Linked DNA regions of Homo sapiens: region 2 is linked to region 1. The links are contacts of gene promoters, found by promoter capture Hi-C in blood cells and fetal thymus (Javierre and others, 2016). All regions are on one chromosome and are shown on one strand. The core of a region is centred on a gene start or on the middle of the fragment in contact, and the rest is flanking DNA. Distances in the headings are between cores, read along the strand shown. Region 1 holds the start of USH2A (usherin). Region 2 overlaps LINC01653 (long intergenic non-protein coding RNA 1653).

What was found. The method cuts DNA at HindIII sites, captures the fragments that hold promoters and counts their contacts. A CHiCAGO score of 5 or more calls a contact.
Region 2: a contact is called between a fragment that was not itself captured here and the fragment with the promoter of USH2A in region 1, in 1 of 17 cell types (M0 macrophages). The highest score is 6.1, in M0 macrophages.

The regions. Positions count from the first base shown.
Region 1 is chr1:216,419,823-216,425,552 of GRCh38, reverse strand. It overlaps USH2A (usherin), which reads left to right and starts at 2,105. Exons shown (of 72, transcript NM_206933.4): 1 at 2,105-2,339; 2 at 3,013-3,701. The coding sequence starts at 3,217. The HindIII fragment of the contact is 1,632 bases long and covers 2,095-3,726 here.
Region 2 is chr1:218,052,723-218,058,452 of GRCh38, reverse strand. The region is part of intron 3 of LINC01653 (long intergenic non-protein coding RNA 1653); the gene reads right to left. Among named protein-coding and RNA genes, the nearest start is that of LINC01653, 12 kb to the right of the region's middle. The HindIII fragment of the contact is 1,728 bases long and covers 2,723-4,450 here.

The DNA.
Region 1 (5,730 bases), core at 856-3,355:
AAGAAAGGAAATAGCCCATGGCTACATATGTTTAACTAGAGGTGCCCTCCATATACATCTACTTTCCTTTTAAAAAATCTGTACTTATTTCCCAGGCACTTATAGGGGTGATGGAACTCTTAGTGTCTAATTCATTTATCAGATGCACCCTCAGGATTGATAGCCCTGAATTGCAAAGGTTGAGGGATATGTGAATCCATTGTTTGCCTTTGCAAATAATAGGCAGAGTTTCTTAATGTGGACTAGAGTTGCTAATCTTAGATTATCCATTTGAGTCATGATTTCCTACTATACAAAGCAGGAGTTGTTATGGGGTAGAAGAATTTTTATCCCAGGAATGACAAAGATAAGTTGAAGCACTACAGTAAAAAATTAGAGTTAGACATGGACACGTAGAAGGGAACAACAGACTCTACAGACTCTAGGACCTACTTGAGGCTGAAGGGTGGGAGGAGGTGGAAGATTGAAAAACTACCTATCAGGTACTGTGCTTATTACCTGGATGATGACATAATCTGTACATCTAACCCCCATGACACACAATTTACCTATATAACAAACCTCCAAATGTACCCCTGAACCTAAAATAAAAGTTTAGAAAAAATGAGAATTAGTTCTTGGATTCACAAGATATAAAGAGAAGCCAGCCATTGAATACCTTGTTTGAAAGTAGGTTGACTTCATGTTTTGTAGCAGGTCTGAATAATCCATTTGTCTAATTCACTGTGCTCTATAATACCTATTTTCAAAGATAGTTTCCCAAGTTCTGAGAAGTCCTTACATATTAGCTGACTTTATACTAAAATTTGGGTTTAAAAAAATTTTTTTTTAGAGACATGGTCTCACTCTGTCATCCAGGTTAAAGTGCAGTGGTGGTGTGATAATAGTTTACTGCAGCCTCGAAATCCTGGGCTCAACAACCCTCCCACCTCAGCATCCTAAGTAGCTGGGACTACGAGTGTGTGCCACCATGCCTGGCTTAAATTTTTTTATTTTTATTTTTATTTTTATTTTTTTTTTGGAGACGTGGGATTTCACTATGTTGCACAGCATGGTCTTGAACTCCTGGCTTCAAGCAATCCTCCCACCTTGGCCTCCCAAATCCCTAGGAGGCACAAGCATGAGCCATTGTGCTTTGCCCTAAAATTTGTTTTAAATTAAAGTTTTTCTGGTAAGAATGTAATAGCGTATTTTGACAAAGGGTGAGAAAGGCTTCTTCTGGAAGCAACTAATGCTAATTGATAAAATTGATATATAAATGGGTTGTGGTTTCCAGCTCTCTTCTGGGAGAGAAATAAAAGGGAATCTAATAAAGAACAATGTTGGTTTTTCTCTGGCTGCTTTACTAACAAGAAACACCATGAAACATTTCTCTCATTTCTAAACATTTCTATAAAAAAGATAACTTATAGAGAACAAAATCACAATCGACCAGTTATTTCCCAAACAAATTTTCCATTTTTACAATACAAAGGGAAAGCTACAAGTATTAGCTGATTTAGAATATTTCTCATCTAGGATGAGATGTCCCAGATGGCAGAGTAGAGAGAGTTTTGGATATAATTGAAACTCTATAGAATTGGTGGCAAATGTGCACATATACACACACACACACGTTCCTATCCAATTAAGCAGCCAAAAAGTCAGCAATCCCATTGCTTCTTTAGTTTAATTAAAGTCACTGATTTTCCAAACCCAACATTTAGAGATCACATCAGATGCTACTCATAATGTAAGGAAGCATGTATTATGGAGAGGTTATCCTGGGTGAAAGGTACAGCAACAACTGAATAGTCAACCGAAACTTCTATCAATGGGCCAAGCTTTGGGAGCATCAATATATAAAAGTTTAGAATTCCATTTTGTATCCTCTTCTCCCCCAAAAAGAAAGAGCACTGGAAATTATTCCTTGTGTGGTGTTTAATAGTGGTAGATCATTTTGATTAAGGAATTAAATGGATTGAGGTGCATGAGAGCAAGAAAGAGGAGGGGCAAGAGGGGGGATTATAGGATAAGGTGTACTGCTACTTTAAAATTATGTATGCATGATCCCATCCAGGTCCCTCCCACTGCTTGAGGTACCAGCGGAAAGCTTGGGCAGCTCAGTTCCAAGAGGGCCACCAAGCAGACCACGCTCTGAGCTTCAGGTAACCAAGTGTTTGCTCTGCAGAATACTTTACCTGGGCACCCAAGTCTTCCTTCCAGCATTCCTGCTGCTACAGCCTATTTGCTGAGTAACCAGGGGTTACAGCAGCGTTGCCAGGCAACGAGGGACAGCGGTCCTGTTGAAGAGCCATTTGTCACACTGAGGGGACTGGTTGAAATGCAATAAAGAAATGGTAACTCAGCTTATTTATCAATACAATTACTTGCACAGTATTAGGGATCCATGTGTAACCTACAAATTCATAGTCATATGAGGAAACACAGAAACATTTTGCTAAATATTAAAGCATAGGACAGACAGATGGTGTTGGGTTTCTAATCAGCTTTACTCTGAGCTTAAAGTTGCTGCACATGCTGGGATAAGGGGAAAGGCCCAAAGTCCTTTGCCAGCTTTATTTTGGGCATCTGTAAGTTAGCTCTGGGTTACAATGTACAGTGCATGTGTAAAGAAAATCTACAAGATTCTTTTCCCTGTTAAGTAGAGCTGGTAATGCCATTGCTAATTCCCTGGGGTGAAGTAACAACACAAAATTATTGTATGTGTAATATATTATTAATAATTATATATATATAAAACACACACATATATTATATAAATATTTATGTATAACTGGTTATAAATATTACTGGTTGTCCTGTGGACTTATAAAGTGCTTGATTTGCCCAATGCAATCAAGAGATTTACCAAAAGGATGAGTATTTTACTCTGAGCACTGTGCTTCAAAATGTTTTTTGAGAAGTTCAGTAGTGTTGCTTCTAGGAGCTCAAAGTCCTCAGGCCTGGGATGAGCTTCAGTTTTAAAGGTGCAGCAGCTTTCCCTTGACGCCCTACGTTTTTGATTCCCAGATACCAGCAGCTACTCATGTCTTCGCCATTGCTAAGAACGTCGTTGGTATTACCTTACTCTGAGAACGTGTCTGCAGTTTCCAGAAAATGGAGTATCGCAACATCACTTAAAGTACCCTGCTTCAAAGTATTGCTGGCAAGTGGCGTGGGCCTGATTATTTATTTAGAAATGCTTTATCAGGAGGAGAATGCTTTTTTGTAAACATGAATTGCCCAGTTCTTTCATTGGGCTCTGGCTTCTTGTTTCAGGTCATTGAAATGTTGATCTTTGCCTATTTTGCTTCAATATCCTTGACTGAGTCACGAGGTCTTTTCCCAAGGCTGGAGAACGTGGGAGCTTTCAAGAAAGTTTCCATCGTGCCAACCCAAGCAGTATGTGGACTCCCAGACCGAAGCACTTTTTGTCACAGCTCTGCTGCTGCTGAAAGTATTCAGTTCTGTACCCAGCGGTTTTGTATTCAGGATTGCCCATACAGATCTTCACACCCTACCTACACTGCCCTTTTCTCAGCAGGCCTCAGTAGCTGCATCACACCAGACAAGAATGATCTGCATCCTAACGCCCATAGCAATTCTGCAAGTTTTATTTTTGGAAATCACAAGAGCTGCTTTTCTTCTCCTCCTTCTCCAAAGCTGATGGCATCATTTACCTTAGCTGTATGGCTGAAACCTGAGCAACAAGGTGTAATGTAAGTAGTAGTGTAGGTATAAGCTTTCATAGGTCCCCAAAACCAGTAGTAGTGAAGATCATTTCAGCCTGAATTCCAAACCGGAAGTGAAGGCTATATAGAATTCATGGTATTGAAGACTAACTCTTCCAGTTGTTTCCCCAATTAAAATTTTTTTCTCTTCTATGGATGAAATGGACCATGAAAAAAAATGTGAAAATAGTTTATCAAAGGCAAATGTGTTTATGCAGGAATCATTTATTTTCTATAGCTTAGCGCGACCTTTGGTCTTAGCCTTCAAAGCCTAAAGAAGACTCAGAGTGAGTTTTAAGGCATGGAAACTTGTAATTAATACAAATAATTAATATTTTCAAAATCTTGAACTGGGTTTATATAATCAACATTTCCTTACTAGGGTATAACATTTTCATTAGGCAGATAGTTCTCCCAGTCCTTGGGACTGTTTTCTTCATCCTCGTTTCCCCAAGAAGAGCTGTTTGTTTGACTCATGGAAGATGTTCAGTAATATAAATTGAATATATAAATAACCCTCCATCTCTAAAAACATATAGCTTTTAGTTCTTTATCTTGTGGTATTTTCATTTTCCAATTAGTTAGGAAATATGTAGGTAAGTGTGAGAGATTCTCAAAAGCTTTCATGCTGTTCATCCCAGAGAAATGCCTTCAATGAGTCTGGGTCTTATTACTGCCATTTTTTGTTATTTAATCACCAGTTTTTCATTCTGTAATCTTTTCTCAAGCTGATATCTAATGAGTTTCTTCTAAATATTTATTGCCAACCTGGAGATTTTAATATACAGGACAGTTTTGAGGAATTTTTGCTTATCTTTTTTCTTCCTAGAGGGCTTTTGGCCCTTTCTCTTGTGACATTTTCTGTGTGTGACAGCGTTGGCTGGATATCTAAAAACTTGTGAAACAAACCAGAAAAGGATTACAATCTCATAAGCAAATAGGACTTAAATGTTTTTGGTGTTTAGTTTCAATTTGCCAAGTGAAAGTTGGCATGTCTTCATTTTGTTTTAAATTTGGATTAATCACAAAATTAATCACAAACCATTCCCATTTCTACATCTCTCCTCAAAGAAAACCTTGTTTTCTTACTGTTTGAAATTCTAGTAAATTCAAGCTACTCAGTTTATATAATTAACATCTGAAGAGTCTTAAAACATTGTCTTTTGACAAATAGGGCTAAGATAAAATATCCTTCTGAGCTTGTAGGGACATATCTGTACCAAATTCATCTTCTATTGACATCATTTTGTATAAATAAGACAGAGAAGTATTTACAGGGTTGGAAGAACATGGTTAATGGTTTTGAGAGTTCCTTGTATCAAGGTCGTTTCCATTTTCAAAATTAAAATACCTTTGGGAATTGGGGGAATTTCGGGGTGTTTGCACTAGATAAGTAAAACAAACAAAACATGGATTATCCAATTATTGTTTATTCAGGAGCAGAATAAATCCAGTTCCTAAATATTTTGCTACCTGCCTTCCTCTCACATTTATTATCTACCAAAGCTAGTATGTTTACAAGCAAACAAAATAGCAAGGAAGATAATCAATAACATATTAAGAAATGCATTTTCAGTAAGCTTGGGAAAATAAGTCTGCATTTGGTAAATACATTCTTGAGTAATGGTCGAATTCTCACTTGTAGATTTAAACAGAAGAAAAATGAATAGGGGCAAACTCTTTTCAGGTTAAGACCTGATGGGTAGGGATAAAAACAAATTCACTTCAGTAAATTAGAAATATTCAACTACTGAAGGGTTAAAAATATAATTTGCAGTAGAATTTATATAAAACTTTTATTTCTACTTATATAAAACCTTTATGTCATCTAAATCTATTTGCCTAAATTAAAAATATACTTGCACTCATAACTTTATACCAAATATACATACAAAATATAGTAAAATTGTGACAGTAAATGAGGGACTATTAGTGTTTTACAATCTTATTCTTACCTCCCAACTCAGGAAAAAAATAGATGCAAGTGATAGATGCAAGTGAGAAGAAATTATGTGTG
Region 2 (5,730 bases), core at 2,337-4,836, 1.6 Mb before region 1:
AAGAGAAAAGAGTTGGAAAGGGAAACTGAGTAAAAGAGAAAATAAATTTGTGAAAATGTTAGCCTTGGTGAATCTAGGTAAAAGGTAAGGTATATGCAGCTCCACTGTACTGTTTATTCCTTTAACTATTCTGTAACTTTCTAATGTTCCAAAATTAAAGGTTGGAGGGCCGCTGTGGTGGCTCATGCTTGTAATCCCAGCACTTTGGGAAGACGAGGCAGGCGGATCACAAGGTAAAGAGATCGAGACCGTCCTGGCCAACATGATGAAACCCTGTCTTTACTAAAAATACAAAAATTAGCTGGGCGTGGTGGTATGTGCCTGTAAGTCCAGCTACTTGGGAGGCTGAGGAAGGAGAATCACTTGAACCTGGGAGGCAGAAGTTGCAGTGAGCCGAGATCAGGCCATTGTACTCCAGTCAGGTGACAGAGCAAGACTCTGTCTCAAAAAAAAAAAAAAAAAAAAAAGTTGGGGACTATATACAATAGAATCAAACACAATAGAGTAATTAGAAATAAATTATAAACTTAACAAAGAAATGTAAGAGTAGTAAACTGAAAACTATAAGACATTGTTGAAAGAAATTAAAGATCCGAATAAGTGGACTAATATTCTATGTTTCTGATTGAAAGACTTAAAATTGTTACTATTGCAAACAATACTCCCCAAATTGATTTACAGATTCAATGCAATACCTGTCAAAATTTTAAAATTTGCAGGAGTCCCAGAGTAGCCAAAATGATCTTGAAATGGAAGAACAAAGTTGGAGGATTCTCACTTCCTGATTTTAAACTTATGTAAAGCTACAGTGATAAAGACAGCGTGATATTTGCAAAAGAATAGACACGTAGATCAATGGAATAAAAGCAAAAGTCCAGAAATTAACCCATAGATCTATGGTTATCTGGTTTTCAACAAGGATGCCACGATCACTCAATGGTGAAAGCATAGTCTTCACCAAATGATGCTGGGACAACTGGATATTCATTTGCAAAAGAATAAACTTGAATCCCTACTTTCTATCATGTGTAAAAATTAACTCTAAATGCATCAAAAACTTAAATGTAAGCTAAAGGTATAAAACTCCGAAGAAAACATGAGTATAAATCTTCATGACCTTGGAATAGACAATGGTTTCTTAGATATGACACCAAAAGCACAAGCAACCAAAGAAAAAGTATATATATTGGACTTCCTCAAAATTGAAAATGATTATGCATCAAAAGACAATACCAAGAAAGTGAAACAACAACCCACAGAATGGGAAAAAATATGTGTAAATCATATACCTAATAAAGTTCTGGTATTCAGAATATATAAAGATTTCTTACAACTCAACAACAAAAAGACAAACAGGCAACTGAAAAATGGACAACAGATTTAAACAGATATTTCTCCAAAGAAGATACACAAATGGCCAACAAGCACATGAAAAGGTGCTTAACATTGTTAGTCATTAGGGAAATGTATATTAATGTCACAATGAGATACCACTTCATACCCACAAGGATGGCTAAAATCTTTTTTTAAAAAAAGGAAAATAAGAAGTGTTAGTGAGGATGTGAAAAAATTGGAAACCACATACATTGCTAGTGGGAATGTAAAATAGTGAAGATGCCATGAAAAACAGTCTGGTAGTTTCTTAAAAACTTAAACATAGGCTTCTCATATGACCCAGTAATTTCACTCCTAGGCAAATATCCAAGAAAAGTGAAAACATATGTTTATGAAAAAAGTTGTACACAAATTGTTGATAACGGCATTATTCAAGATGGCTACGAAGTGGAAACAACCCAAATGTTCCTCAGCTGATGAATGGAGAAGCAAATTGTGGTATATCCTTATAATGAAATGTTATTTGCCCATAAAAGTAAGTAAAATACTGATTTGTGTTATAATATGGACGAATCTTGAACATGTACTAAGTGAAAGAAACTAGGTTCAAAAGGCCACTTACTGTATGATTTCATTTATATAAAATGTCCATAATTGGCAGATCAATAGAGACAGAAAGTGGATGAGTGCTTTCCAAAGGCTGGGGGTGGTTTGAGGGTGGGGAGCGGCTGCTAATAGGTACGGGGTTTCTTTTGGGGGGTGATAAAAGGGTTCCAAGTATCCAAGATTAGATAAATTGTGGTGATGGTTGTGCAACCCTAAAGTATACTAAAAACTACTTAAGAGTAGAAATGAAACTTCAGAAACTTTAAAGAGTGTTGAGAGGCTGGGTGCAGTGGCTAACGCCTGTAATCCCAGAACTTTGGGAGGCTGAGGTGGGTGGATTGCTTCAGCCAGAAGTTTGAGAACATCCTAGGCAACATGCAAAACCCTATCTTCACAAAACAAAAAAATACAAAAATTAGCCAGGCGTGGTGGCGCCTGGTCCCAGCTATTTGAGAAGCTAAGGTGGGAGGATCACTGGAGCCTGGGAGGTGAAGGCTGCAATAAGCTGAGATGGCACCACTGCATTTCAGACTGGGCAACAGAGTGACACCCTGTCTCAGGAAATAAATAAATAAATAAACAAATAAAGATGAGGGAGAAAAGCCTGAAAGAGTAGTGTAAAATGCAAAGCATAATGACATAGATATAAAACAAAATAAGAGGGCAGACACAGAGAATGAAGAATGAATACTCCTACCAAGTATTATAAATATGCATCTTCCTAGGAGTTAGGATCCTATACTGTGCCTCAATTGTTAGGAATAACTTTGCTTATTAAGCTTCTGAAATCAATGAAGGAAGCAACAACTCTTTCTTGTCCACCACTATGTCCACCCTGCCCTAACACAGGGTATGATGATACATAATAGGTACTCAACAAACAATTGTATAATTAACAAATTAACTAATTATATTCCAGAGGGATAGATCAGAAAGATAGAACTAATCACAGTTATAATAGAAAACAATTCCAAGCTCAATAAATACCAATCTAAAATTGTAAGGGATGTTTAAAATCTAGGTAATTTTGATTTCTTTTAATCAAACTATCATATTTCCTAGTATACCCATATACTAGGAAAAATTTTGAATTTTAAGAATAATTGCAATAATAACTGTAAGCATCCAAATAGAAAAGCTAGGTTTCCATAAAGAAACTGGCTTCAGACTTCTCTTCTACCACATTCAATGACAAAAGATGATAGGGAAACAGATTGCCACTTACGAATTAAATAGCAAGCCAACTTATCACTCATGTGCTAAGCCAAAAAGGCTCTCAGCTTAAGAAGGGCTCAAAAATATGCCACTTTTATACCTTGTCTAAGAAGAAATACCATAAAGATAAACTCAAGCAAAATGAAAAATGAATTAAAGCATCAGAATGGTATAACATAAATGAATGGTGATTAAACAGAGCTAATGCATTATTACAATAAACAATAAGTAGAGGCCTGGTGCAGGTCATGGGAGGATCACTTGAGCCCAGGAGTTCGAGACCAGCCTGGACAGCATAGTGAGATCCTGTCTCTACAAAAAAAAAATTTCAAAATCTCCAGGGTGCAGTGGCACACTTCTGTAGTCCCAGCTACTTGGGAGGCTGAGGTGGAAGGAGTGCTTGAGCCTAGGAGGTTTAGTCTGCAGTGAGCTATGGTGACATCACTGCACTCCAGCCTGGGCGACAGAGCAAGACTCTTTTTAAAAACAAAAAAATGAAAACAAAACAAAAAAACCCCAGTAATTATAAGTATCGTTAACAAATTTAATGCAAATATCCAGAAATGTTTACTGAGAGAGATGATACTAGACTAGAATGTTTCTGAAGGTTTTTCATGTTATGGCAGAGAAAATTCTGTTTCTACAACACACTGGCATAAATGGATGAGCCTGCCAGCAGCCGCAGGCCCCACTGAGTAGCTCTGTTAGCTGAGGGAGTCAACATCCGGGCACACCTGTAGCCAGCGTACCCATTGTACATAGATTTAGATTTAGCTCTCACCGAGTTGGAAAACCAATGGAGTTTTTAATAACAAGTAAATGGTAGGAGAAAAAAATCACAAAACAAATCTGAATAAAAAGTATGCTTTCAATTTGGCTATAATTTACATAATTGGCATACACACATTCACAGGAATGTTAATATATTATCTAGGTGGTAGGAGAGATTTTTTAAAATACTTTTCCTTATTTTCCAAATAGTCTACAAAGAGTTTTTTAATAATCCCCAAAATAGTACACATTTTTCATAGTTTCCAAAATAAAACCCAATAAGGGTTTTAAAAACAAAAGCTGTCTTGGCACTAAATACTGACAGATTAATGAAACAGAATAGCCTTGGGTGTGTGATACTAATTCTAATATGTATGTGTGAGTACAAATAAAAATGTGTAAATATATAAATAAAAGAAATAAGACTCCAAATATGAGCTGGGTGTGATGGCTGGTGGTTATCAGCCCAGCTACTTAGGAGGATACAGTGAGAGGATATCTTGATCCTTTGAGCCCAGAAGCTTGAGACTAGGCTGGGCAGCACAGTGAGGCCCCAGCTAAAAAAAGAAAAAAGAAAAGAAAAAGAAGCCAAATACATAACTATGTTAATAGACATGGTGTTTGCAATGTGATATATCCATTAATTTAAATAAGGGGTATTATAATAATTATTATTTTATCTATAATATCATTAGTCATTATAATTTCCAAATGTACCTTAACTTCTTGTTTTTTTTTTTTTTTTTTTTTTGGAGATGGAGCCTTACTCTGTTGCGCAGGCTGGAATGCAGTGGCGTGATCTTGGCTCACTGCAACCTTCACCTCCCAGGTTCAAGTGATTCTCCTGCCTCAGTCTCCCAGGTAGCTGGGATTACAGGCACCTGCCACCACTTCCAGCTAATTTTTGTATTTTTAGTAGAGACAGGGTTTCACCATATTGCTCAGGCTGGTCTCAAACTCCTGGCCTCAAGTGATCTACCCTCCTTGGCCTCCTAAATTTCTGGGATTACAGGTGTGAACCACGCTCCTGGCCGTACCTTAACTTGTTTTTTTGTTTTGTTTTTGTTTTTATTGCTGTGTTGCCCAGGGTGGACTCGACCTCCTGGGCTTAAGCAATCCTCCTGCCTCAGCTCCCCCTACTTTCAGCATTTCAGCTTTTCTTGGCATTTGCCTTTGTAATTATGTCTGAAAGTCATCCCCCAACTTTCCCCACTTCCCAGGCAGCTAGTCTGTGGAACTAAGTGTCTTAGTATTGAACTCCTCAGCTGCTCATTTAATGTATTTTCCTTAGAAAAGTTACTGTCTGCTTCTCATTGATCCTAATGGGTGCATCTTCTGTCTCATTCTGTCCTAATTCACTATTTAATTTGCTCAGCTTTAATTTTTGTTATTCTCTGAGCAGCAGGAGAAAAAGCAGCTCTGTAGTTATGAGAATTCTGTAGAACTAATGTCTGGCTGTACCAATGAGGGATTTATATATTTTTGAATCACTCCTGCTTGTGTCTCCTCTTCTGCATTATGAAGGGTAATTTAACCAGCAGCCACAACAGACAAACTGACATCTTGGTGGCTGAACATACTAAAAGTTGTATGTTACAGTCTCATACTGCACTTCCTCATTTCTTTTTCTTTTCTTTTTTTTTTTTTGAGATGGGGTCTCGCTCTGTCGCCAGGCTGGAGTGCAGTGGTGTAATCTTGGCTGACTGCAAACTCTGCCTTCCGGGTGCAAGCGATTCTCCTGCCTCAGCCTCCCAAGTAGCTGGGACTACAGGCTCATGCCACCACCCCCAGCAAATTTTTGTA